5 separate regions of the Homo sapiens genome follow, and all the other regions are linked to region 1. The links are contacts of gene promoters, found by promoter capture Hi-C in human tissues and cell types (Jung and others, 2019). All regions are on one chromosome and are shown on one strand. The core of a region is centred on a gene start or on the middle of the fragment in contact, and the rest is flanking DNA. Distances in the headings are between cores, read along the strand shown.

What was found. The method cuts DNA at HindIII sites, captures the fragments that hold promoters and counts their contacts. A contact is called where the count stands out against the background at its distance.
Region 2: a contact is called between a fragment that was not itself captured here and the fragment with the promoter of RNH1 in region 1, in 1 of the 25 tissues and cell types used here (spleen).
Region 3: a contact is called between the fragment with the promoter of POLR2L here and the fragment with the promoter of RNH1 in region 1, in 3 of the 25 tissues and cell types used here (aorta, lymphoblastoid cells and spleen).
Region 4: a fragment that was not itself captured here is called in contact with the fragment with the promoter of RNH1 in region 1 in 1 of the 25 tissues and cell types used here (spleen).
Region 5: a contact is called between the fragment with the promoter of CEND1 here and the fragment with the promoter of RNH1 in region 1, in 2 of the 25 tissues and cell types used here (bladder and dorsolateral prefrontal cortex).

Annotation. Positions count from the first base shown.
Region 1 is chr11:505,182-509,768 of GRCh38, forward strand. RNH1 (ribonuclease/angiogenin inhibitor 1) reads right to left here and starts at 2,061. Exons shown (of 11, transcript NM_203387.3): 1 at 1,932-2,061. It also overlaps a transcript of LRRC56 not described here. RefSeq lists an enhancer at 1,330-1,499 and a cis regulatory region at 1,415. The HindIII fragment of the contact is 14,362 bases long and covers 1-4,587 here.
Region 2 is chr11:905,826-910,412 of GRCh38, forward strand. The region is part of intron 1 of CHID1 (chitinase domain containing 1); the gene reads right to left. Among named protein-coding and RNA genes, the nearest start is that of CHID1, 2.7 kb to the right of the region's middle. The HindIII fragment of the contact is 5,018 bases long and covers 86-4,587 here.
Region 3 is chr11:839,204-843,790 of GRCh38, forward strand. It overlaps POLR2L (RNA polymerase II, I and III subunit L), which reads right to left and starts at 3,326. Exons shown (of 2, transcript NM_021128.5): 1 at 3,211-3,326; 2 at 518-1,277. The coding sequence starts at 3,305. The coding sequence ends at 1,169. It overlaps TSPAN4 (tetraspanin 4), which reads left to right and starts at 3,649. Exons shown (of 9, transcript NM_003271.5): 1 at 3,649-3,712. RefSeq lists silencers at 810-859, 3,088-3,717, 3,828-3,917, 3,938-4,167, 4,153-4,321 and enhancers at 1,585-2,329, 2,330-3,075, 3,076-3,819. The HindIII fragment of the contact is 28,886 bases long and covers 1-4,587 here.
Region 4 is chr11:812,061-816,647 of GRCh38, forward strand. RPLP2 (ribosomal protein lateral stalk subunit P2) reads left to right here. Exons shown (of 5, transcript NM_001004.4): 4 at 475-573; 5 at 700-816. The coding sequence ends at 776. Among named protein-coding and RNA genes, the nearest start is that of SNORA52, 2.7 kb to the left of the region's middle. RefSeq lists an enhancer at 1-727. The HindIII fragment of the contact is 3,735 bases long and covers 177-3,911 here.
Region 5 is chr11:787,507-792,093 of GRCh38, forward strand. It overlaps CEND1 (cell cycle exit and neuronal differentiation 1), which reads right to left and starts at 2,584. Exons shown (of 2, transcript NM_016564.4): 1 at 2,524-2,584; 2 at 1-1,152. The coding sequence starts at 1,070. The coding sequence ends at 621. It overlaps SLC25A22 (solute carrier family 25 member 22), which reads right to left. Exons shown (of 10, transcript NM_001191061.2): 10 at 2,969-4,562. The coding sequence ends at 4,409. RefSeq lists a silencer at 2,495-2,724. The HindIII fragment of the contact is 19,046 bases long and covers 1-4,587 here.

The DNA of each region.
Region 1 (4,587 bases), core at 811-3,310:
CCGCGGTCACTCATATTCGATTCAGAATAAATCCCTTCAAATATTTTACATTTTAACTATTCTTATCGACAGTACATTTTTTAAAATAAGAATGGCCCTGAAAGATGTCCACCTCCTAATCTCCAAACCTGTGGTGTTACCTTAAGTGGCAAAAGGGACTTTGCAAATATTAAGAATATTGAGATGTGAAGGCTACCCTGGGGTGTCTGGGCGGCCGGCATATAATCATGAGAGTTCTTATGCAGAGACAGTAGGTTTTGAAGATGGAAGAAGGTGGCCTCTAGAAGTTGGAAGAGGAAAAGAAGCAGATTCTCCTTGGGAAACTCCAGAAGGAACTACCCTTGCCAACACCTTGATTTTAACCTCCTAAAACTCACTTCGGGCTTCTGAGCTCCAGGCCTATAAAACAGCCTGTGACAAATTCGTTATAGCAGGGATGAGAAAATAGCTCACTGCAGCCTCCTCTTCCAGGGCTCAAGTGCTCCTCCTCCCTCAGCGTCCCAAGTAGCTGGGACTACAAGCGTTCACTACCGCAACTGGCTAATTTTTTCTATCTTTTGTAGAGACGGGGGTCTCACTATTTTGGCCAAACTCAGTATGTTGGTCGCAAACTCCTGGGCTCAAGAGATCCGCCCGCCTCGGCCTCCCAAAGTGCTGGGATTACAGGCTGCAGCGCACCCAGCCTAATGTAACTTTTTTTTTTTTTTTTTTTTTTTGAGAAGGAGTTTCGCTCTTGTCAGCCGGCTGGAGTGCAGTGGCACGATCTCGGCTCACCGCAACCTCCGCCTCCTGAGTTCAAGCCATTCTCCTACCTCAACCTCCCAAGTAGCTGGGATTATAGGCGCCTGCCACCACGCCCGGCTAATTTTGTATTTTTAGTAGAGACGGGTTTTCACCATGTTGGCCAGGCTGTTCTCGAACTCCTGACCTCAGGTGATCCGCCTGCCTCTGACTGCCCGGCCCAGTGTAACTGTTAACGGCAACATCGTGTGCAGTCTCCGGCTTGCATTCGGTTTAGTCAGCCAATCGCTAAGACGACACTTGAGACCGTTTTCAGATCTTTAGGCTTTCCACCATCCTAGAAGGGGGCCTGCCTGGTTCTAAGGCCCTTCTGAAACACTGCCAAACTGTCCTCGGGAAACGGTGCAGAAGTCCTCTGGTTTCCCCCAAGGCGCGTGGGCACCTTGGCTGGAACCTCGCCCAGTAACACGACGTGCCTGGGGCCCCTTCGTCATTTCCGCCAACCCCGGTGACAACCCTGACACCGGCCCCTAAGTGCCATTCCAGTTATGTTGCTCTCCTCCCCGCAGCCCCAGGCGGCAGCTTCGCGGCCCGGCGTCCGGTCCCCCGGTGGTCCCGGAGCGAAGCTCCGCAATGGAGAGCGGAGGACCCTCCCTCCCCGACCTCGCACGACCAAGACCGCCCACCTTTCCCCCAACGCCCGGCTGTGGGAGCCGTTCGAGTCTTCTCCGCCAGGGCGCTCCTTCCCGGGAGGCCGCTTCTTTGGGGGAATAAGGTCAAGGATTACGGGATTTGGGGAAGCAAGCTCGGCTGGGCCAGGATTGCTTGCGTAGCTCGCTGGAATCTAAGGCACTAGAGGGCTTGACGGCCACGTGAGGACGAACCACGCAGGCGCAGCCCCGCGCCCCGGGCAAGGACTTCCGGCAAGCCCCAAAGGGGAGCGTGCACCGCGATGACGTCCTCAAGGCGCGCCACGTCCGCCCGGCGGCGCAGCTGCCCAGCGCAACCTCGGCCCCGCCTCGATAGCCCCGGACCCCTGCCCCGCCCGACCCCGCCCCGCCACGGGAGCGCGCCACTCGCCCGCGCAGCAACGGCCTCAATAGCGCCAGGCCCGCGTCTACAAGAAGCCCGACCAAGGCCGGCGTGGGCGAGGCCTGGCTAGACGCTGACGCACCGCTGGAGCTACTGACCTCGGGACGACTGGCGGACGGTCGCGGGCCTGGAGACCCAGAGCGAGACGGCCTACTTCGTTCTCGAGCCAGCAGAACGGGTTGAACGTGTCGACAACCCCACCCGCCAGTCAGCGGCGCGGGCGTGTTCGAGCCGGCTCGTGGGCGTGGTCAGGTGCGTGGGCGGGGACTACTGGGCGGGGCTCGGCGCGGGGGCGGGGCCTGGCGGGAGTAGTCTCGGGGTCGGGGCGGGGCCCGGCGGGCGGGGCTCGGCTAAGCACAGTCTTGGCGCAGCGGCGGGGCCTGGTGGGGCGTGGCTCGGTGAGGGAGGTCTCGCTTGGGGGCGTGGTCTCCCCCAGTAGGCGGGGCTTGGTGCCGGGGGCGGGGTCTGGCGGGCGCGGGCGCGTGTGCGTGTTGTGGGCCTCGCACTGGCACGCAAGTCTCAGCAATTCCTGAGAATCCTCGGAGGAAGAGGCCGGGGCCCGGTGCGGCAGCGCCTTGGGGGCGGAATCGCAGGCGCGGGTCGGGCCTTGCTGGGGCGCGGGGCGCGGCCCCCGGAGAAAGCGGCCGCCTCGGGACAGGAGGGACCCGGGAGAAACCCCCCTGGGGCGGCTCCGCATGTCGGGGTCGCGACTCTAGGCGACCTTGGTAGAGGGGCTCGTTTGCGCCGAGCTCGCGACCCCCGAGGGAGCCACGGCCCCGTGAACCACGCTGCCCGTCCTGGCCACTGGCTGCCGCCTTTGTTTCGTGGGACCCCAGCCCGCAAGGCCTGCGGAGCCGCGGCCTCGTCCCGAGTGTTCTGAGCGCGGTCCGAGCTGCTCCTGCGTCCACTCTGCTGCCGACACCCGAGCGTCGCCTGGAGCCCTGGCACTGAGGGGCGCAGGCCGAGTTCCAGACCAGCCTGGGAAACGCAAAGCGACCCCACCTCCACAAAAGTGGGTTTTCTTTAAGTTTTTGACTAGTCCGCAATTCACAGAATTGACATTTTGGCAGATGAAGATTGCAAGTAAGGAAACTAACGGTATCTCAGATTTGTTCTTTAGCAATTTGCTAAACCTCTCCTCTGACTGCCTTTATTAGGTATTTGTTTTCGAGACAGGGTCTCACTCCACTGCTTAGGCTGTACTGCAGTGGCGCGATCCCAGCTCGCTGCAGCCTCCACCTCCCGGACTCCAGTGATCCTCCCGCCTCAGCCTCCCAAGTAGCTGGTACCACAGGCGCCAGCACGCCTGGCTAATTGTTGTATTTTATGTAGAGAAGAGGTCTCCCTGTGTTGCCCAGCCTGGTCTTGAATTGGGCTCAAGTGATCCTCCTGCTTCAGCCTCCCATATCGCTGGAATTACTGGCATAAGCCACTACACCCGGCCTGATCATCTTTAAAGAAGGTGGTTCTGGCCGGGCGTGGTGGCTCACACCTGTAACCCCAACACTTTGGGAGACCGAGAAGGGTGGATCACCTGAGGTCAGGAGTTCAAGACCAGCCTGGCCAACGTGGTGAAACCCCATCTCTACTAAAAATACAAAAATTAGCCAGGCATGGTGGTGGGCACCTGTAATTCCAGCTACTTGGGAGGCTGAGGCAGGAGAATCGCTTGAACACGGGAAGCAGAGGTTGCAGCGAGCCTAGACCACACCATTGCACTCCAGTTCGGGCAACAAGATGAAACTCTGGCTGGGCGCGGTGGCTCACACCTGTAATTCCAACACTTTGGGAGGCCAAGGCAGGCAGATCACCTGAGGTCAGGAGTTCAAGACCAGCCTGGCCAAGATGATGAAACCCCATCTCTACTAAAATTACAAAAACTTAGCCAGGCATGGTGGTGCATGCCTGTAATCCCAGCTACTCAGGAGGCTGAGGCAGGAGAACCACTTGAACCCAGGAGGCAGAGGTTGCAGTGAGCCAAGATCGTGCCACTGTACTCCAGCCTGGGCAACAAGAGCGAAACTCCATCTCAAAAAAGAAAAAAGAAACTCCGTCTCAAAAAGAAGGTGGTTCACACACACACACACACACCCCCAAGAAAGCTCAGGGCTGGAAGGCAGCCAACCTGGCTGTGACCCTCATCCTGCACACGTGAGCTTGGTGACCAGTAGCTGATTCTTTAACTCTCTAAGCTTTGGAGTCTGGATGTGAGGTTTAGAATTCATGACAAGAAGCTGGAAGGATGCCGCCAGTCTGACTCCTGGACTGGTTCTCTTGACATCTTTGCAAAAGCTGCTGAAATGTTCTGGTTTCATTTCATTCTTTTCTTTGCCATGATCTCTTAGATTTGTTCGTGGCAATTCTCATAAGAGTGAAGAAAATGTTTAAAATGGCTGTTGGGCTCCCTTTTGTGACACCTTGTGGGGAAGGTGCCCAGGTATGTATAGGTGCTGAGCGCACGGCCAGCATGGTGTCTGTGGCCGGGCCTCCCTCCTGGACAGTGCGGCCACAGCCCCTGAAAGGTATGTCTTCATTTTTATTTTATTTTATTGAGATGGAGTCTCGCTCTGTCGCCCAGGCTGGAGTGCAGTGGCGCGATCTCGGCTCACTGTAAGCTCCGCCTCCCAGGTTCAAGCCATTCTCCTGCCTCAGCCTCCCGAGTAGCTGGGACTACAGGCACCTGCCACCACGCCCGGCTAATTTTTTTTTTTTTTTTTTTTTTGTAATTTTAATAGAGACAGGGTTTCAGCGTGT
Region 2 (4,587 bases), core at 1,345-3,844, 400 kb after region 1:
ATTAGGAAAGAAAATACCACTGGAGTAGAACTACATACAAATGTAAGACTTTCATTCAGGAAATAAAGAAGGAAATGTGAAGACAAATAATAAACCAGAAAGAATATTTGGAACACACTTGACAACGGATTTCTACCCATAATCTATTCATAACATGCAAATAAATCTCACAAATCAAGAAAAGACATTCCAGTAAAAAATGTCCCGGCTGGGAACGGTGGCTCATGCCTGGAATCCCAGCACTCTGGGATCCCAGCCACCACCACACCTGGCTAATTTTTGTATTTTAATAGAGATGAGGTTTCACCACATTGGCCAGGCTGGTCTCCACCTCCTGACCTCAGGTGATCTGCCCACCTCGGCCCCCCCAAAGTGCTGGGATTACAGGTGTGAGCCACTGCGCCCGGCTGTGGGACTTTTTTTTTTTTTTTTGAGTTGGAATCTTGCTATGTCACCACACTGGAGTGCTGTGGCGCCATCTTGGCTCACTGCAACCTCCACCTCCTGGGTTCAAGCGATTCTCCTACCTCAGCCTCCCGAGTAGCTGGGATTATAGGCGCGTGCCACCACATCCGGCTAGTTTTTGTATTTTTAGTAGAAATGGGGTTTCGCCACGTTGGCCAGGTTGGTCTCAAGCTCCTGGCCTCCCGTGATCTGCCTGCCTCCCAAAATGAGCCACCGCGCCCAGCCATGGGGGATTTTCCACATACGTTGAAAACATGAGGATGTTCATGGACCTGGCTCTCCCAGATGCTGGAACACAGACAGGCACTGCCATGCTCGTGGTGTGCCGGTCAATGAAGACGCTACAAGACAGAACTTCCACAGTTCAGTCCCACAGAGAAAGCATGTAGGGAGGGGTGGTAGAAAGCAAACGACATGCCCTTCACGTGGAAGCTTAAGAAACAAAACAAAAAAGTAGCCTGGGCGCGGGGGCTCACGCCTGTAATCACACCACGTCGGGAGGCCAAGGCAGGCAGATCACCTGAAGTCGGGAGTTCGAGACCAGCCTGACCAACATGGACAAACCCTGTCTCTACTGAAAATACAAAATTAGCTGGGCGTGCTGGCGCATGCCTGTAATCCCAGCTTCTCGGGACGCTGAGACAGGAGAATCACTTGAACCTGGGAAGCAGAGGTTGCGGTAAGCCGAGATCGCGCAATTGCACTCCAGCCTAGGCAACAGGAGCAAAAACTCCCTCTCAAAAACAAAGAAACAAAACAAAAAATAAATGAGCAGGCTATCTGGAATTACTGGTCATTGTTTCTTCTCTTTTACTTTATCTGTATCTTCTGGTCTTCCTGCACTAAACTTTTATTACACTGTTCACTTTCAGGTTCTAGGGGCCACCAACAAAAGTGATTCTACTTTCCGGCCGGGCGCGGTGGCTCACGCCTGTAATCCCAGCACTTTGGGAGGCCGAAGCGGGCAGATCACGAGGTCAGGAGATCGAGACCATCCTGGCTAACACGGTGAAACCCCATCTCTGCTAAAAATACAAAAAATTAGCCAGGCATGGTGGCAGGCGCCTGTAGTCCCAGCTATTCGAGAGGCTGAAGCAGGAGAATGGTGTGAATCCAGGAGGTGGAGTTCGCAGTGAGCCGAGATAGTGCCAGTGCACTCCAGCCTGGGCGACGGTGCGAGACTGTCTTTAAAAAAAAAAAAAAAGTGATTCTACTTTCTATCTTTCACTGGGGTTGGGGGCAGCGGCGGTGGGAGCTGAACCACCACCATAGCCCAGCCAGACTGTTAGTCCTTCATGAAGCTTTGGGACACTGCTGGGAAGAAGCTCTTGGCTAGTTTCACAGCTCTGGCAGCACAGACCCCTCTAGACCAGCTGAGAGGCCCACACAGCCTGGGCAGAGGCAGATACCTGACAGGTGGGGAGCTCAGCCCAACTCACTACCCAGCAGCTGGGCACATGGCCTTCCCCTTGGGTCACAGGCTCCTGAGTATATGGGAGCTCAGGCCCAAGAGGCTCCAGGAACCCCAGCCAGGCAGGTGCACCTGTCAGAAGATGCTGCCAGAGCCAGGCCTACCACAGTGCCTACCCTCCTACCCAAAAGACTCCCTGGCCAGGAACCTGTTTTCACTTCCTCTGAAACCGTCCCCTTGACCTGCTTTCTTCTGCAGAGGCACACGCTGCCCCACTTTGCCCTGTCTCTTCCCTGGGTGAGACTGGTGCTCCTGGTGCAGACTGAGGAGACTGTGGCTACCCCCAGGCAGGGAGTTTGCATGCTTTGGTACCCAATACACCCACAACACACCTGCATAGAAAGAACACGCTCCTGGAGCAAGATCAACCAGTGAAGCTCCCCCACCTAGGAGGCAGGGAGCCACAAGACAGCCTGACCTGCAGGCTTATGGGGAGTTAGGAAGGGAACTCACAGGGCAAGCACAGCAGCACCCAGTACATGGAGCCACAGGCAAAGGCAGTGAGTGCTTGAACAGCCACGGCAGTTCCGAGAGGCTGTGCAGGGGGAATAAGAAGGCCCAGGCACAGATCACCACCCTCTGCCCCGATCAACCTCTCCAGCCCCTCTCCTCAGTGATACATCCCAGAATCAGAACCAAGGGCAGCAGCCTGCTGCCACCTCCCCTTAGCCCCACTATCTTTCTGCTGCAGCTGAGGCTTGGTCTGAGTCAGCAACAGCCCCAGGGAAGGTGGGGAGGGTTCTGGCCATGGCACAGGGAAGACGGCCCAGAATCACTTGCCTGGCCAGGCTGAAACGGTGGCTGCCTCAGCTCCCAGGCACCCAGTCTTTGACCCCAGCCCATTCCATGACCACTGGCTCCTTCTCTGTCTTCTGGGTGGAAATCTGGGTCAGGGAGGAAGGAAAGGAATGAAAAACCAAACGGTGGTTCTCCAGGGGACTGGCCCAGGAGTAACTGGAGGGCACACTCAGGTACCCAGTGACCAACCACTATAGGGCTGGGTCTCTGCCCCTACCTGCCGTCCTGCAGATTTGAAACAGGGCCACTGTCCACCCACCTAGTGGCCCCTCTGCCTATGACCTCCCTGCCCCCCAACCTGTGATTTCACACTTCAGGGAAGGAAGAGGAAAGGGTGGAAGAGGAAGACAGTCCTGCCAGCATGTGTCCAGCAGAGGGGACACTAGGAGAACCTAACTGAACACAAGGCCAGGGTACTGCCTCTGTCCACTCGCGCTTAACTTGCCCGCTCTGTGATGGAGTGCTTGGATACAGGCTGCTCACAAATGCTGGGCTGCTTCTTTGACTTGCCATGGAACTTTCCAGACAACTGCCCCAGGGAGATGGTGTGTGTGATGTGTGAGGGGTGCTCACACTGCAACCAGGCCCTTGTCTGGGCTTTGGTACCTCTCCCGCTCCCCACTGCTCACCGGCCGCTCGGCTCTGAGGCCCGTGAGGACACTCTCCATCATGCTCTTCACATAACACAGACTCCCAGGTTCACACACACTGTGTTCCTGCATCAAACCGTTTCTTCCCCAAATGCCAATGACCTTCCCTTGGGCAGAACGGCCCCGCACACAAAGGGAATGTGTTGTGTTATGAAGAGGCACAGGCCCCGACCCTGGTCACCCAAAGGGGTCCCAGAAACCGCTCTGTAACAAGATAAGGTGGAGCGCTACTGCTCCCACTTTCCTGCGCTCCCAGTCCGTAGGTCCAGGACCTCCTCGGTGGTGTTGATGGAAATGATGGGAGTCACAGCAGGGGCTTTCCAATGCTTTTCATGGAGACCAGCAGTAAGAAATGCACTTTACGTCACAGCCCAGCACACGTGTATGTCATGTGTGCACATGTGTTGTGCATGTGTGTACATGTGTAGAGCGACAGCAGCCAATCAGAGCTAACTCTATTCTGCGATGGACGCACTGACAACTCCTGTTCTGTTGTGTTTTGAAGAACTAACTGGTGCATGGCGGCTCTGGCCTGTGATCCTAGCACTTTGGGAGGCCAGGAGTTTTTGACTGGTTTTGGCAACACAGCCAGACCTGGTCTCTACAAAAAATATTTTTCTGCCGGGCAGATCACCCCATCAGGAGTTCAAGACCAGCCTGGCCAACGTGATGAAACCCAGTCTCTAAAAAAGATACAAAAATTAGCTGGGTGCAGTGGTGTGCGCCTGTACTCCCAGCAACTCGGGAGACTGAGGCAGGAAAATCCCTTAAGCCCAGAAGCGGAGGTTGCAGTGAACCGAGATCGCGCCACTGCACTCCAGCCTGGGTGACAGCGTGAGACTCTGTCTCAAAAAAAAAAAAAAATTCTTAGCTGAGTGCGCTGGCGCACACCTGTAGTCCCAAGTAGCTAGGAGGCTAAGAGATTACTAGAGCCCAGGAAGTCGAGGCGGACGGGCGGGCGGGTCACCCTCCAGTTTGGACAGTCAGCAATGGAAGCTTCAAGGGTTGGGGCTGAACCAAGGGTGGGTGGGATCGCGTCTGATGCGCCCACCCTTCACGGGGACCGCGTGCCCCTCACTGGGAGGGCAGCCCGCCTGGAGCCCTACTGCCTCTGCTCCCTCTGGGGGTCCTGGGGACCCGATGGCCACCACTCTGCCACACGAGCCGCGCGCTCACACACTCCTCACCCGCCGGCCACATCCC
Region 3 (4,587 bases), core at 2,076-4,575, 340 kb after region 1:
GGGGGTTTACATGGAGGAGCCTATAGGCCCTGCTGGGGGCCAGAGGGTAGGAGGTACCAGAGCCTGGTGTCTGGCAGAGGTACCCTGGAGATGGGAGCCAGGGCTCGGTCACTGATTGTGCCCCCCACTGCCCAGGTTCCTGTCCTTAAGGCTCAGAACTGTAGACCCTCAGGCAGACCCGTTCTCCCCTACCAGAGGACACCACGCCAGATATCTGGGCAGCAGGGACATCTGACCTGGGGTGCTTGCTGGCAGCACTGCCTGGACAGCAGGGCCTCCTTAGGGCCACCTCCCAACCCAGCTAGGAGCGTCTTAAGGCCTGCCCTCCCTGCTGGGCTTGGGTGGGACGCTCAGGGACAGGCAGCAGTGGGCAGAGGCCAGCAGGTACTGGCAGCCCTGACCACAGCAGAGACTGGGCCCCAGAAAATCTGTTTCTCTCTTCTTTTTCATAGTTGTGTTGAGACAGAGTCTTACTCTGTTGCCCAGGCTGGAGTGCAGTGGTGCAAACACAGTTCACTGCAGTGGCAACCTCCCAGGTTCCAGTGATCCTCCTGCCTCAGCCCCGAGTGGCCGGGACTACAGGTGTGAACACTGTGCCCAGCTAATTTATTAAATTTTGTTGTAGAGATGGGGTCTCATTATGATGCCCAGGCGGGTCTTGAATTTCTGGACTCAAGTGATCCTCCTGCCTTGGCCTCCCAAAGTCCTGGGATTATAGGGGTGAGCCCCTTTGCCCGGCCTAAATCTGGCTCTTCAGATTCCGAGAGAGAGGGTACAGGAGCCTCTCTGCTCAGCCTGAAGAACACCCAGAAGGAGGGAACCTCAAAGAGCCCCGAGATGGAAGGCTCTCCTGGCAGCGCCTCCTGCAGGGGTGCCTGTGGAACAGGCTGGCCCCAGGGCTAGGAGAGTTCATGGCCCAGTCTGCTTCACTGGGCTGCCACAGTGTGAAAGCTGGGCCTAGACCTGGCTCCTGACATCCTAGTGAGGGCTGGGACCTTAGTGGTTCTGAAAGACCTTTACTGGATGGTTCCTTCCAGAGTGGGGTATCGGATACACACACACTGCGGCCAGGCATTACGCCAGCTCCCGGATGCCTCAGCCTCGTGAATTCGGGGCAGGACGCTCAGGGCCCATGGTCAGCACAGCGGGTGGGTGGGTTCCAGCGTGGTCACTTCTCCAGGGGTGCATAATTGAGCAGCTTCTCGATCAGGTCCACGTGGGCCAGCAGCATCCGGCGGCAGCAGTAGCGCTTCAGGCCCAGGGCATCCAGCGCATCCCTGTGTCGAGGGGAGGAGCAGAGGCCAACTGAGTTCTCTACGGTCTGCAAAGGCCTGGAGCCCACATCCAACCTGCCTCTCACTGCCTGCTGGCCTCACCCCCCCCGCCACCGGCAAGGCGAACAGATTCACCCGGCTCAGAAGCTGAGATCTAGCAGTATGATCCTGGCTGGAGTAACCTGGAAATGCCCAGAACCCTGGGTGGAGCGTGAGGAGCCTCCTCTCCCACCTACTCTGGCTGTACGTGTGTGTGTATAACGTATGTAAGAAATGTAAATGAAATGAAAACGAAGTAATTGCGGGGAGCTTAGAAAACCAAGACCACCAAGGTGCTGATGTGCAGCCACCTCATCCAGCACTGGCCACGGCAGGGTAGCTCTCCAGGGGCCTGCCCTTAGCTGGTTCACCCCCACCCCAGCCAGAGCAAGCCCTGCTCTGCCGCTGTGGGGTCTTTCCTCACCTCTGCTTCCTTCCATCAGAGAGAGACTGCTTCTCCACGGAGCCACCTCTCCCACTTCCCAAGCCAATTAGAAGCTTTCATTTCCCTGGGACCTAGCTCCAGTCACCCTCAAGACCTCCAGAAAACTCCCACACCGATGGCTCCAATGTGCAGAGACACAGAAGCTTGGGAAAGGGGAGGCCACATGGGAGGCCCCTGCCGTTCCTATCCGGGGAAAGGGTCTGGACAGGCCGCCAGCCACTCAGTCTAGCAGCCCACTCGCTTTCCTCGTTTGTCCAGCAAGCTGCACCAAGTGCCGATGGCAGGCTGGCGCACACAAGCCCAGGGCTTCACATGTGACGAAGACTCAGTGGGCGAGGGTCAGACTCCAGCGGGGGCACCAAGACTCAGGCACCGTGGTGACAGCAGCACCAAGGGACAAGCACAGGAGAAAGACGCCTCCCCTACAAAGCCTGATGAGGGTGGTCAGCAAGTCTACCCTGCATTTCTTTTTCTGTGTGTGTGTGTGCGTGAGACGGAGTTTCACTCTCTCTTCCAGGCTGGAGTGCAGTGGCGTGATCTTGGCTCACTGCAACCTCCACCTGCCTCCCAGACTCAAGCGATTTTCTCGTCTCAGCCTCCCAAGTAGCTGGGACCACAGGTGTGCACCGCCATGTCCGGCGAATTAAAAAGATAGAGCCAGGCGCGGTGGCTCACGCCTGTAACCTCAGCACTTTGGGAGGTCGAGGCGGGTGGATCACCTGAGGTCAGGAGTTCCAGACCAGCCTGGCCAACATGGCGAAATCCCATCTCTACTGAAAATACAAAAATTAGCCGGGCGTGGTGGCACACGCCTGTAGTCCCAGCTACTCGGGAGGCTGAGACAGGAGAATTGCTGGAGCCCAGGAGGCGGGGGTTGCAGTGAGCCGAGATCGCGCCACTGCACTCCAACCTGGGCGACGGAGCGAGACTCCGTCTCAAAAAAGAAAAATAAAATAAAATAAATTTCTGGAGATCAGGGTCTCCCCAGGTTGTCCAGGCTGGTCTCGACCTCCTGGGCTCAAGCAAGCCTCTCGCCTCGGCCTCCCAAACTGCTGGGATTACAGATGTCAGCCGCCGCGCCCGCCCGTCCTGCAGCGAGGTTTGCAGGACATGGGGTGGGCCTGGGGGCAGAGATGGGAATAGGGCGGAGGCCAAGGGCTTTACTGCGGGTGACAAGACGCCTGCGACCCGCCAGGCCACCTAGAATCCCCAGGACACCACTGGTTTGAAGCCCAACTCCGTTCTCTTCCCCAGACTTCAGGGGATAAGGTTCTCCCGAAAGCAGATCACAGAGCGGGGCTGGAGAAGCCGGGCCTGAAGCTGCTCATGGGGCGCTGGCCTCAGGCAGCGCTGCGCCTCCCGCCCCGGCGCGCACCCCAGGGCGGACTCAGCCCCCAGCCCCGGCCCGCGCCCCACGGCGGACTCAGCCCCTAGCCCCGGCCCGCGCCTCACCCCTCGGTGTACTCGGCCTGCAGCAGCCCCAGGTAAGCCTCCCACTTGTTGCCGACGATCTTGCCACAAGTGAAGCAGCGTACAGGGATGATCATGGCGGCGGCGCGTCCCAGACTGCCCGGCCCGGCCCGGCCGCACGCGAAGAACCCCCCCAGGCCCCGCCCCGGGCGCGTCCACTGTTGCGGGAGAATCGGCTCCGCTCGTTCTCCGCTGTTCCGGCCGTCCCTCCACCGGCCCCGCCACCGCTGGCCGCAGTTTCCGCCGCGATAGGGGCTTCCCGTGCGTCCCGGGGCTCCTGGGCCTGTGCGTCCCGGGGCTCCCGGGCCCGCGCGGCCGCGGCAGCAGCAGACCGCACACCCCCGCCCACCGTCTTGGTGCATCCCGGCGCTACGGCGTCTGAGCAGGGCCGTAAAGCTGCGGCGGCGGTTCGCGTTTCTCGTGTCCGCTTGACTGACAGCTGCGCGGCGGGAGCGGGCGGCGCGAGCGGGAGGCGGCGGCGCAGGTACTGCGCCTGGGGGTTGTGGGGGCGTGCGGCCAGGGTCCCGTGGCCGGAGGTGTCCGACCGGGAGCGGCTGGAGCCGGACGCGAGCGGGGCGCGCGAGTTCGAGCCCAGAGCCGACACGCAGCAACAAGTGGGGTCCGGCGCGGGGGCTCGGGGAGAGGGCGGGCGGGGGCCGGGGCGGGTCTTCCTGCCGCCCCTCCTGGCCGCGCCGAGTAGTGGGTTCCTCCGCCTCGGCCTCTGCCCGCGGGGTGTCCGGGGCTCTCGGCGCTGAGTTCGGGGGTCCCATTCTGGACGCGGCCCAGCCCCTAGGGGCGCCGCCCTGGCCTCAGCTGCGCAATTACAGCCCCCGCCGGCAGCTCCCCGCCCCGGGCTCCTGTCCGCGTTCTTTCCGCTCTTTCCCGGGAATGGGGTCGGGGTGCGCCCTCCCGGGTCCCGGCTCTGCTGGCTGCTCGCCGTCCCGAGCTCCCGACGCTCAGACGCGCCTCTGAGCACGGGGAGAGGGGACCCGGGAGGGAGGTCGGGGAGGGAGTCGTGGAAGAGGTGCTTTTTGAGCTGAACCTGGAAGACCCCGGCACAGGGGATCCCTGGGCAGACTCCCGGAGGCTGCACTGGCAGGACCCCCTGAAGGCCTCAGCTCTGGCTTGCCCTGGAGCTCAGGGCCTACGGACGACGAGGGACGAGGAGCCCGTGTCTCTCGGATGGAGTGCGGGGGGGCTGGCACCAGCACCCTTCTTGCTGTGCCCCTGGGGTGGGGGTGAGGAAATGGGGGGTCGGTGTGCAGTGAGAGGCAAAGAAGGCTCCTTGGAGGTGCGAGGTGGGCTGTGGGGGTGGGTGGGCCGCAAAGCGGCACCCATGGGGGGCTCTGGGCTGGTTTG
Region 4 (4,587 bases), core at 794-3,293, 310 kb after region 1:
TTGTTGGCTTCAGCTGAGCTGGTGGAACTTGTTTGGAAGTTGAGCTGTTGGGGCAGCTGTTCTTGTCTTCCATGCATGTGACCACGACAGGGCCAGCTCAGCAAACGGGCCAAGCCATGAACACAGCGTTGTGGCCAGAGATGTGGATACTGGGGCAGCACACTCATTCCCTACCTAGTTATGAACATGTCTGTCCAGTGGACCTCTGAGGGTGGAGGTGGGGAAATTGGGCAGGCAGGCAGTGTGGGCCTAATTCCTAGAAGGCAAGTCCCTGGATAGGAAAGGTGGGGAAGAGAAGTCCCCGTTGAGGAGTGGCTCAGGGAGGGAGTGTTCAGGAAGAACGGGAGACACTGGCATATGGTGGGTCCAGATATGTTGGGTGCCATGTGCCATCTCTGGTGCCATCTAACTTCCCTGTGGAACAGCCTCCCAGGCTGGGCAGCTGCTCTGGTCTCACCTCTCTGCTTTCTGTAGGTATTGGCAAGCTTGCCAGTGTACCTGCTGGTGGGGCTGTAGCCGTCTCTGCTGCCCCAGGCTCTGCAGCCCCTGCTGCTGGTTCTGCCCCTGCTGCAGGTAAGTGGTGGCCTGGTGAGTGGGCAAGGGGCTGGGGCTCAGACGGTGTTGCTGCAGTGGGGTCTTCATGGGGGGACTGGCCTGGCACTTGGGCAGTGCTCACCATGCCTCTCCTCTGTTCCACAGCAGAGGAGAAGAAAGATGAGAAGAAGGAGGAGTCTGAAGAGTCAGATGATGACATGGGATTTGGCCTTTTTGATTAAATTCCTGCTCCCCTGCAAATAAAGCCTTTTTACACATCTCTCAAGTATTCCATGAGCACTTTGTCAAGGGTGGCCTCTGCCCAGGTTCTTATCCAAGAGGGCAGGTGTGGAGCTGAAGTGTGGGCAACATGGTATTGGGGAAGCGTTTCTGGTGCAAAATGAGCATGAGGAGGGGAGTCTGGGCATCACAGCTGCCTGGGGTCCCTTCCTGTGGCCTTGAGCAGTATCCTAGCTCCTGAGTACACCCCAGAAGAATGCGAACGGGCTGGGCACAGTAGCTCGTGCCCATTATCCCAGCACTTTGGGAGGCCGAGGAGGGAAGATCACTTGAGGCCAGCAGTTTGAGACCAGCCTGGGCAAATAGCAAGACCCCATCTCTAAAAAACAACCTAACAAGGCGTGGTGTGCACCTGTAGTCCCAACTATGGGAAGTTGAGATGGAAGGATCACTTGCCCAGGAGGTTGAAGTTAACAGTGGGCCGTGATAGTGCCACTGCACTCCATCCTGAGCAGCAGAAACCCTGTCTTGAAAAAAAAGGACAGCAGAGAAGCTGATTTCAATGGAGTTTGGGTAATCAGGGCTCTGTCTTTGGGGTGGCTTGGTGCCTGGACTTGCAAGGACAGGATTGGTAGCCCCTGGGCTCTACAAATGGATGCAGGAAGTGAGCCCAGCTTGGGGGTGGCAGACGCCCCTGGGTTTCCCTGCAGGGGTCATGGCTCCGCCATAATGCCCTGAGCAACTTGGGCAATCACTCCTCAGGCTTGTTTTTTTGCCGATCACAGCCCACCCCTGCCTTACTGGGCAGATGTGCTCAGGGCTTGTGGGAAGTGACCACAGGGCCATGTGCTCACTGAACTAGGTCCTTTGGGGATGGGCCTGCCCTCCCCCGACAGGCTCTGTCCTGGAATACAGGGCTAAGGACAGAGGCCATCACCCTCCCCTCCCAGCCTCTCTGCCCTCCTGGCCTTACTCCGTACGCAGTCTCCCAGGCCTCAGGGTCTTTGCCCGCCAACGTAGGCACCCAGAAGATGGTCTGCCACTCCCACCCTAGGCTTGGGGTCAGCAACCCACCCGCTGGCTTTGGTGTGGGGAGCACCTGCTGTGTGACCACCTTAGTTCTGGGAGGATAAATAGGCTATAGCACAGAAGACAGTTGGGGTGGCTGGGGGAGGCCTCCCTCAGATGGGAAGGCAAGACCTGGAGGAAGGCAGAGTCCCTGGAGGGGAAGGAATGTGGATTGTTGGAGCCAGGGAGCCACAGAAAGTACTGAGATGGAGGGGGACCCAAGATGCTTTTTATTTATTTTGTTTTTTTTCTTTTTGAGATGGACTTTTGCTCTTGTTACCCAGGCTGGAGTGCAAGTGGCACACTCTCCACTCACTGCAACCTGCGCCTCTCTGGTTCAAGTGATTCTCCTGCCTCAGCCTCCTGAGTAGCTGGGACTACAGGTGCCTGCCACCAGTCCCAGCTAATTTTTTGTATTTTTAGAAAAGATGGGGTTTCACCATGTTGGCCAGGCTGGTCTGGAACTCCTGACCTCAGGTGATCCGCCCGCCTTGGCCTCCCAAAATGCTGGGATTACAGGCATGAGCCACTGCGCCTAGCCTTTCTTCTTTCTTTCTTTTTTTTTTTTTTTTGAGACAGAGTCTCGCTCTGTCGCCCAGGCTGGAGTGCAGTGGCGCCATCTCACTGCAAGCTCCGCCTCCCGGGTTCACGCCACTCTCCTGCCTCAGCCTCCAGAGTAGCTGGGACTACAGGCGCCCGCTACCACGCCCACCTAATTTTTTGTATTTTTTTTTTTTTTAGTAGAGATGGGGTTTCACTGTGTTAGCCAGGATGGTCTCGATCTCCTGACTTCGTGATCTGCCCGCCTCGGCCTCCCAAACTGCTGGGATTACAGGCGTGAGCCACCGCGCCCGGCTACCTTATTTATTTATTTTTTCCAGACGTGATCTCACTCTGTCGCCCAGGCTGGCGTGCAGTGGCATGATCTCGGCTCACTGCAACCTCCACCTCCCAGGTTCAAGTAATTCTTCACCTCAACCTCCAGAGTAGCTGGGACTACAGGTGCCCACCACCACGCCCGGCTAATTTTTGTATTTTTTTTTTTAGTAGAGACGGGGTTTCACCGTGTTAGCCAGGATGGTCTCGATCTCCTGATTTCGTGATCTGCCCACCTCGGCCTCCCAAAGTGCTGGGATTTCAGGCATTATTTATTTTTTGAGACAGAGTTTCGCTCTAGTCGTCCAGGCTGGAGTGCAGTGGCACGATCTCGGCTCACTGCAACCTCTGCATTCCAGGTTCAAGCAATTCTCATGCCTCAGCTTCTTGAGCAGCTGGAATTACAGGCACGCGCCTCCACACCTGGCTAATTTCTGTATTTTTAGTAGAGATGGGGTTTCATCATGTTGCCTAGGTTGGTCTCAAACTCCTGGCCTCAAATGATCCTCCTGCCTCGGCCTCTGAAACTGCTGGGATTACAGGCGTGAGCCACTGTGCCTGGCCTACATTTATATTTTGTTTTATTTTGTATTTTATCTTATATTTTGAGTCGGAGGCTCACTGTGTTGCCCAGGTTGGAGTGCAGTGGCAGGATCTTGGCTCATGGCAGCCTTGACCTCCCAGGCTCAAGTGATCTTCCCACCTCAGCCTCCAGAGTAACTGGGACTACTGATGTGTGCCACCAACACAGCTAATTTTTGTATCTTTTTGTAGAGATGGGGTTTCACCACGTTGGCCAGGCTGGTCTCAAACTCTTGGCTCAGGCAACCCACCTGCTTTGGCCTCCCAAAGTGCTGGGATTACAGGTGTGAGCCACCGTGCCCGGCCTTAATAATATTTTTAAAAAAACCTTTTTGGATGCCCGTAAAAGCAGAGATTAGGGTGGGAGTAAAGCCAGGTGAGGAGTGGAGGAGGCCGGAACCTGGGTAGTAGGGGTGGGGCAGCAGATGGAGGAGGAAGCAAAGAGAAATGACCCCAGCAGGGTACAGCTAAGGAGTGCAGGGAGCAGTGCTCACTACAACGGGGCAGGGGTGAGGCGGGGGCTGGGGATCGCCCAGGCTCAGGGAGCAGTGCTCCCTACAAGGAGGCAGGGGTAAGGTTGGTGCTGGGGATGGCCCAGGCTCAGGGAAGGGGCCCACAGCAGGAGTGGACCTAGGCTTCAGGGTGCAGACCTCACAATTCCAGCCTTGGACCCTGAAGGGAGGGGGCCTGTGTCGCCTGGAGTTCACCATGATAGGGGGACGTCACACCACCTGGGTTTCTCATTGAGCTGCCCCTTGGAGCTTGTCCTGATGGTGGGGTGCTCCCAGCCCTTGCCAGGATTCTGGGAAGGACCGCCCAGTTCCTGGCTCCTGAGCCTCCCAGGGGCCTGGAGGGAGGAACATGTACCCAAAACAGCCTGACCCAGCTGTGGAAATGGGAGCAGAGGTCTCCCTTCACTGGGGCAGCACCATCCATCAAGGCGACAGTCCCTCAGATGGGGCTAAGGCCCGAACCCTGGCCTTTCCCTTGGAGCAGGTTGAGGGAAGGACCCTAAGTCCCTGGCTTCCCCATCAGTGGTTGCCCTGACGAGCCCCTGGACTTCCATCCCTACTTTGCCGTACCCTGAACCATGCTGTCTCCAACAGCATCGCTGGAATCCAGTCACAGAGAGCTCCTGACACCTCAGGAATGGACCTGGCCCCGCCCTCCATACCCTGGCCCTCCCTCCCCAATCCCATGGTGCATTTGCTGCAGGGTACCTCCATCCAAACACGTGGGAGAAGAGGCCCCACATGCGCAGAATAGAAGAGTCTTGTTTTGTTTTTG
Region 5 (4,587 bases), core at 1,334-3,833, 280 kb after region 1:
ACAAGCTGGGGAAGGCGACCCTTGGGCAGCACCCCCTCCACACGCAGGCTTCAGGGCTCCGTCTTCCCACCCAGCTAGGCTTGGGTGGTGTGGGGAGGTGGCATTGAGGCTCTGCTGAGGTGAGTGCCCACCCCAGGTCCGTCCCACTGCATTCGCCCAGGCAGACCCCCGGGGGGTACGCAAAGAGCAGAAATGGGGCGAGTGGAGCCACCGCGCCCTTTAATGTCCCCACGAGGGCCGGGCCCAGGCCCAACCCATCCCGGCACCCCCACCTGCACTCAGACCAGCCCTGGGGGCCCAGGATCACCCAGCCGCCAGGGGTGGGGGGGGCCACACACAGGGTCCATTCCTTTCTTGCCGTTCCCCAGCTGTGCCCTCGCCCCACATCCTGTGCTGTGGACCCCGGAGCCTGGGCTCTTTCTGCCCTGGAGGTTGGGGAAGTCCTGGGTCAGCAGGGGTGGGCTCGGGCGTCCTCTTCACCGTGCGCGTGTGTTGGGGGCGTATGTAGGTGTGTAATGAATGTGCGTGTGTACGAATAGGTAAGGGTGAACTCTGCATGCACTGGCTTCCTCGGGTCTGTACAGGAAGTGGCTCCGTGCCCCCCGCCTGGCCCCCAGGTATTATTTTTTCCGGACCAGGAAGGCCACACCGAGAATCAGGGCTATGGCTGCCACGGCCACACCCCCAGCCACCAGCAGGGGGTTGAAGTTCTCACAGGACCAGGGACCTCGGCCCCCAGGCCCCCCACTGGCAGCCTCATCTTCCTCCGCCCCGTCCCCAGGACCCTTGGGCTCCGGGGTTGCATCGGGACTGCTGGGGACCGTGGGGGCTGGCTTCAGGTTGCTGTGGTTGTTGAGAAGGGCAGGGTCGGCCTTGGCCGAGGTCTTCTTGGCAGGTGCCGTGGTGGGGGCTGCTGGCGGCTGCTGCTTCTCGGCCGGGGCCTCCTTCTTCGAGGGCTTGGTCAAGGGGGCTTTCCCATCGGCTGCCGGGGGTACCTTGGCCTCGGTGGTGACCTGGGGCACCTTGGTGTCGGGCTTGGGGCTGCTGGCTGACTTCCCTCTGGACTCCATGGTGGGCGGGGCGTATGGGACAGGCAGGTGGCTGCACCAGAGGGGCTCAGGACAGTTTGTCGCCCCTGGGCATTCTATGGGCCTGGAGGGAGACACAAGGGAGGCTGCGCGCGGGTCCAGTCCCCCCTGTGCTGCCCCGACCACCTGGTCCCCAGGCAGCCCCTGCCCAGTTCTCTGGACTCTCTGGAGCCCCAGCTCAGGGGCCTCCCGTGGGCCTCTGACACTTCTCTTTCACGGCCTGGACTCCATCTGTCCATGACCACTCCTCAAGGGGCCCCTCCAGCCGCAGAGGCAAGGGCCACGCACAGGTGGGAGGAGGTAGGGGACCCCACTGTGCTCCATAAAATGGCCCATGCAAATGCCACATCCTCCCACCAGCCGGGGGCAGGAGGCTCTTGGTGGGGAAGTAAGGATCAGGCCCAGAGAACTCGAAGGAAGAGCATTCTCCCCTCCAAGGAGGTGATCGGAGCCCCAGTGGGAGAGCTGACTGCATCCCCTCCTCAGGAGAGCATTCCTGCTTTGCAGAGATGGACACTAAAGCACGGAGGCTGTGACCTGGCCAGGGTCCCAGGGGGAGGAGGGCGGGGAGGGGCAGGAGCTGGGATCTCAGGCAGCCATCAGGGTGGGTGGGCCCACAAGAACCCAGACTTGAGAAAACTGGGGTGTCTCTCCAGGAAGTCAGCGTGGGGCTGTGCTTCCAAGGGCCGTCTGCCCCTCCCCAGCCTCTGGGGCCCCCTCCTCAGCATGGGCCGTGCCTGCCTCCAGCCCTGGAGCAGGGAGTCCTCGCCCAGCCCAAGGCTGTGCTGTCTCTGTGGGCAGAGGGTTCCTGGCGTTAAACAGGGTGGGCACATGCTGCACTTGGCCCGCGGGTCAGGGCGGAGGACAGGGTTCTGGGCTGTGGGAAAGGCGGTGCCCAGATTCTCAATGACCGAGGCAGAGGTGGGAAGGGCCCTGGGGGCCCAGCCGCCCTGAACCTGAGTGGGTCTTGCCCCAAAGCCCCAGAGGCCGCCTGTCTGCCTCTCCCAGGGAAGGATGAGAAATGCCCTCCAGACCTGCAGAGAAAGGGAGGCACGTTCCCCACCCCCCGCCAGGTGCATTGACCACACTGAAGGTCACCCGAAGGTCACAGCATGATGAGGGCGTCTCCAGAAGAGGCCCAGCTGCTGCCACCTCCCAGGGAAGCCCAGCCGTCCCTTCACCCCTGCAGTTCTCGGGGGGCTCAGCTGCTGGGCATCAAGTTTGCAAAGAGCAGGTGGTCTGCCCCCCCAACCTCGCTATTTGTGGCACTTACATCCCGGCCGCCGCCTCCCTCTCCCGGGATCAACTGAGCCCTGGAGAACTGGGGGGCCCGCGCGCAAACCCAGTGACCTTCAAGGCCCGGAGCCGCCTCCTCGCCCCGCAGGACGCCGCGCCCGCCCCGCCCGCCCCGCCCGCCGGGAGCCCCCCGCCTTACGCGTCCTCCGGCCTCCCCGGGGCTGCGCGCTCCTCCGCGGGATGACGGCGGCTGCGAACGCGGAGGAGAGCTCGGGAGTTTCCCACAATGCACTGCTCCCGGCGCAGGAGGGCGGGGAGGGGGAGGGGCGACCGGGCCCCGCCCCGCCGGGAACCGTGGGATCCGCAAACCCAGCTCCGCCTTAGATCCAGGGGTAGAAACTTAGGGTCCGAGAGAGCAACTGCGGGGTCCAAGTCCCATCTGGGACTGCCAGAGGCAGGAGGCGGGTCCCGCTCAGCATCCCCTCTAGGCCAGGGTGCCCCTTGGTCGGTGGGTGACGGGTCGGTGGGTGAGGGGTCGGTGGGTGGGTGCGCAGGCCTAGCCCTGCAGTCTGAAGGGAGCCAGTTATGGGAAGAGGGGACTGCCCTCCCCCGCCCCCAAACAGACCCCCAGACAGACAGCAGCATCTACTTAGAATATTTATTTATTCTCTGACATGACAAGACACAAAAAGTTACAACTTCTTAAAACTCTTCAAAAGAAAAAAATATAATTCTGTAAGCAGCAGCAGCAGCTTCCAAGGTTCTGATGTGACGGGAGGGGCAGCTCCCAGGAGCAACCGTGAACTGGGGGGGTCCAGGCCTGAGCCCCAGGTAGTGTCGCTGGGAAGGGGCCTCTGTGGAGGGCCCCGGTTTTGGGGACACAGCACCAGCACATCAGGGTCTGTCACCAACACGATCACATGGCCAGGGCGGGGCAGGGAGAGCTTCGGCTCACAGCAGGGATCGCCCGGTGGCAGGGGGGATGGGGCTTCTGAAGTGTGGTCAGGGGCCTTATGCCCGGAGGCGGGAAGGATGGGGCTTCTGCAGTGTACCCAGGGGCCTTATGCAGAGGCTGAAAAAGGAGGGTGGGCCCTGAGAGGACTTGGGGGTGTGGCAGCTCCTGGCCCTCCCTCCAGAGCAGGGCAGGCACCCTCAGGCTCCACACTGGTCCCAATGCCCGCCCTGCTCCCTGGCCAATCCCAGGCCAGGGTGGAGGACTCAGGAGAGACCAAGCTGGGTAAGTTAGTTCCTGGACGGGGTCAACAGAGCCTGGGGCACACACAGCACACAGAGCGCCTGGCCACGGCGGGAAGGGGGGCAGTCCCCAGCAGCCCCATCCCCAAGGGCCAGGCCAGATCCCCACAACACACACACGCATGCACACACACATACACACACACATGCACACAGACCTCACAATCTGGGCCCCAGCCTGGGGTGGGAGCTGAGGAGCCCACCAGAAAGTCCCACAGTGGGTGGCGGGCTTGCCCCAAGAGTCAGACCTCAGGGCAACCCCTCACTTGGGATTCCTGGCTCAACAGAGAGGGCAGGAGACCCCAGTCCTCTTGCAAGGCTGGCCAGGGAGGCAGAGTCAAGTCCTGCCAAGGCGACAAGAGCGGCTGGGGAAGGACGGAAGGGCTGGAGAGCCGCTTGGGTCCAGCAGATTCAATAAATAGGTTTGTGTGGGGTGCCTGTGTGGGCCAGGATGGCTGTGGAGACTGGAGCTGGTGGACTGGGGGTATGGTCCAGCCTGCCCGGCCCAGGCCCGGGGGCCCCCAGCCCAGAGACCAGCTCTGTCCCTGGGGGTGTTCAGGCCAGGGCAGGATTGGGGCAGGGGCTAGCTTGAGGAATGTAAAGATTTCTGCATTTTCTACATAAATGAGACATTGATCCCAACGGTGCAGGCAGCACCCCGGGGGGCTTGCGTGTGCACCACCTATGTGGACCCTGCACCCTGCCCCCTGCTGCCCCTGCCGACGGGAGGGCTGGGGAGGGGTCTTCCCTTGCTCCGTCCTGGGCTAGCTGCCTGGCTCCAGCCCCACACCGGCCCTGCCCAGCTGGCTGGGGTGGAGCGGGTGCTGGGCTCAGGCCTGGGGGTCCTGCAGCAGCCCCAGCAGGGACTCCGCGATGCCCAGGAAGTAGACCACCTGTGCGATGCCGAAAAGGGGCGCGATGACCAGCGCGCGGCAGTAGGCGCCCTTCAGGAAGGCCGAGGGGCCCTCGTGCCGCAGGATCTTCCTGTGGAGGAAGGACGAAAGGGTCA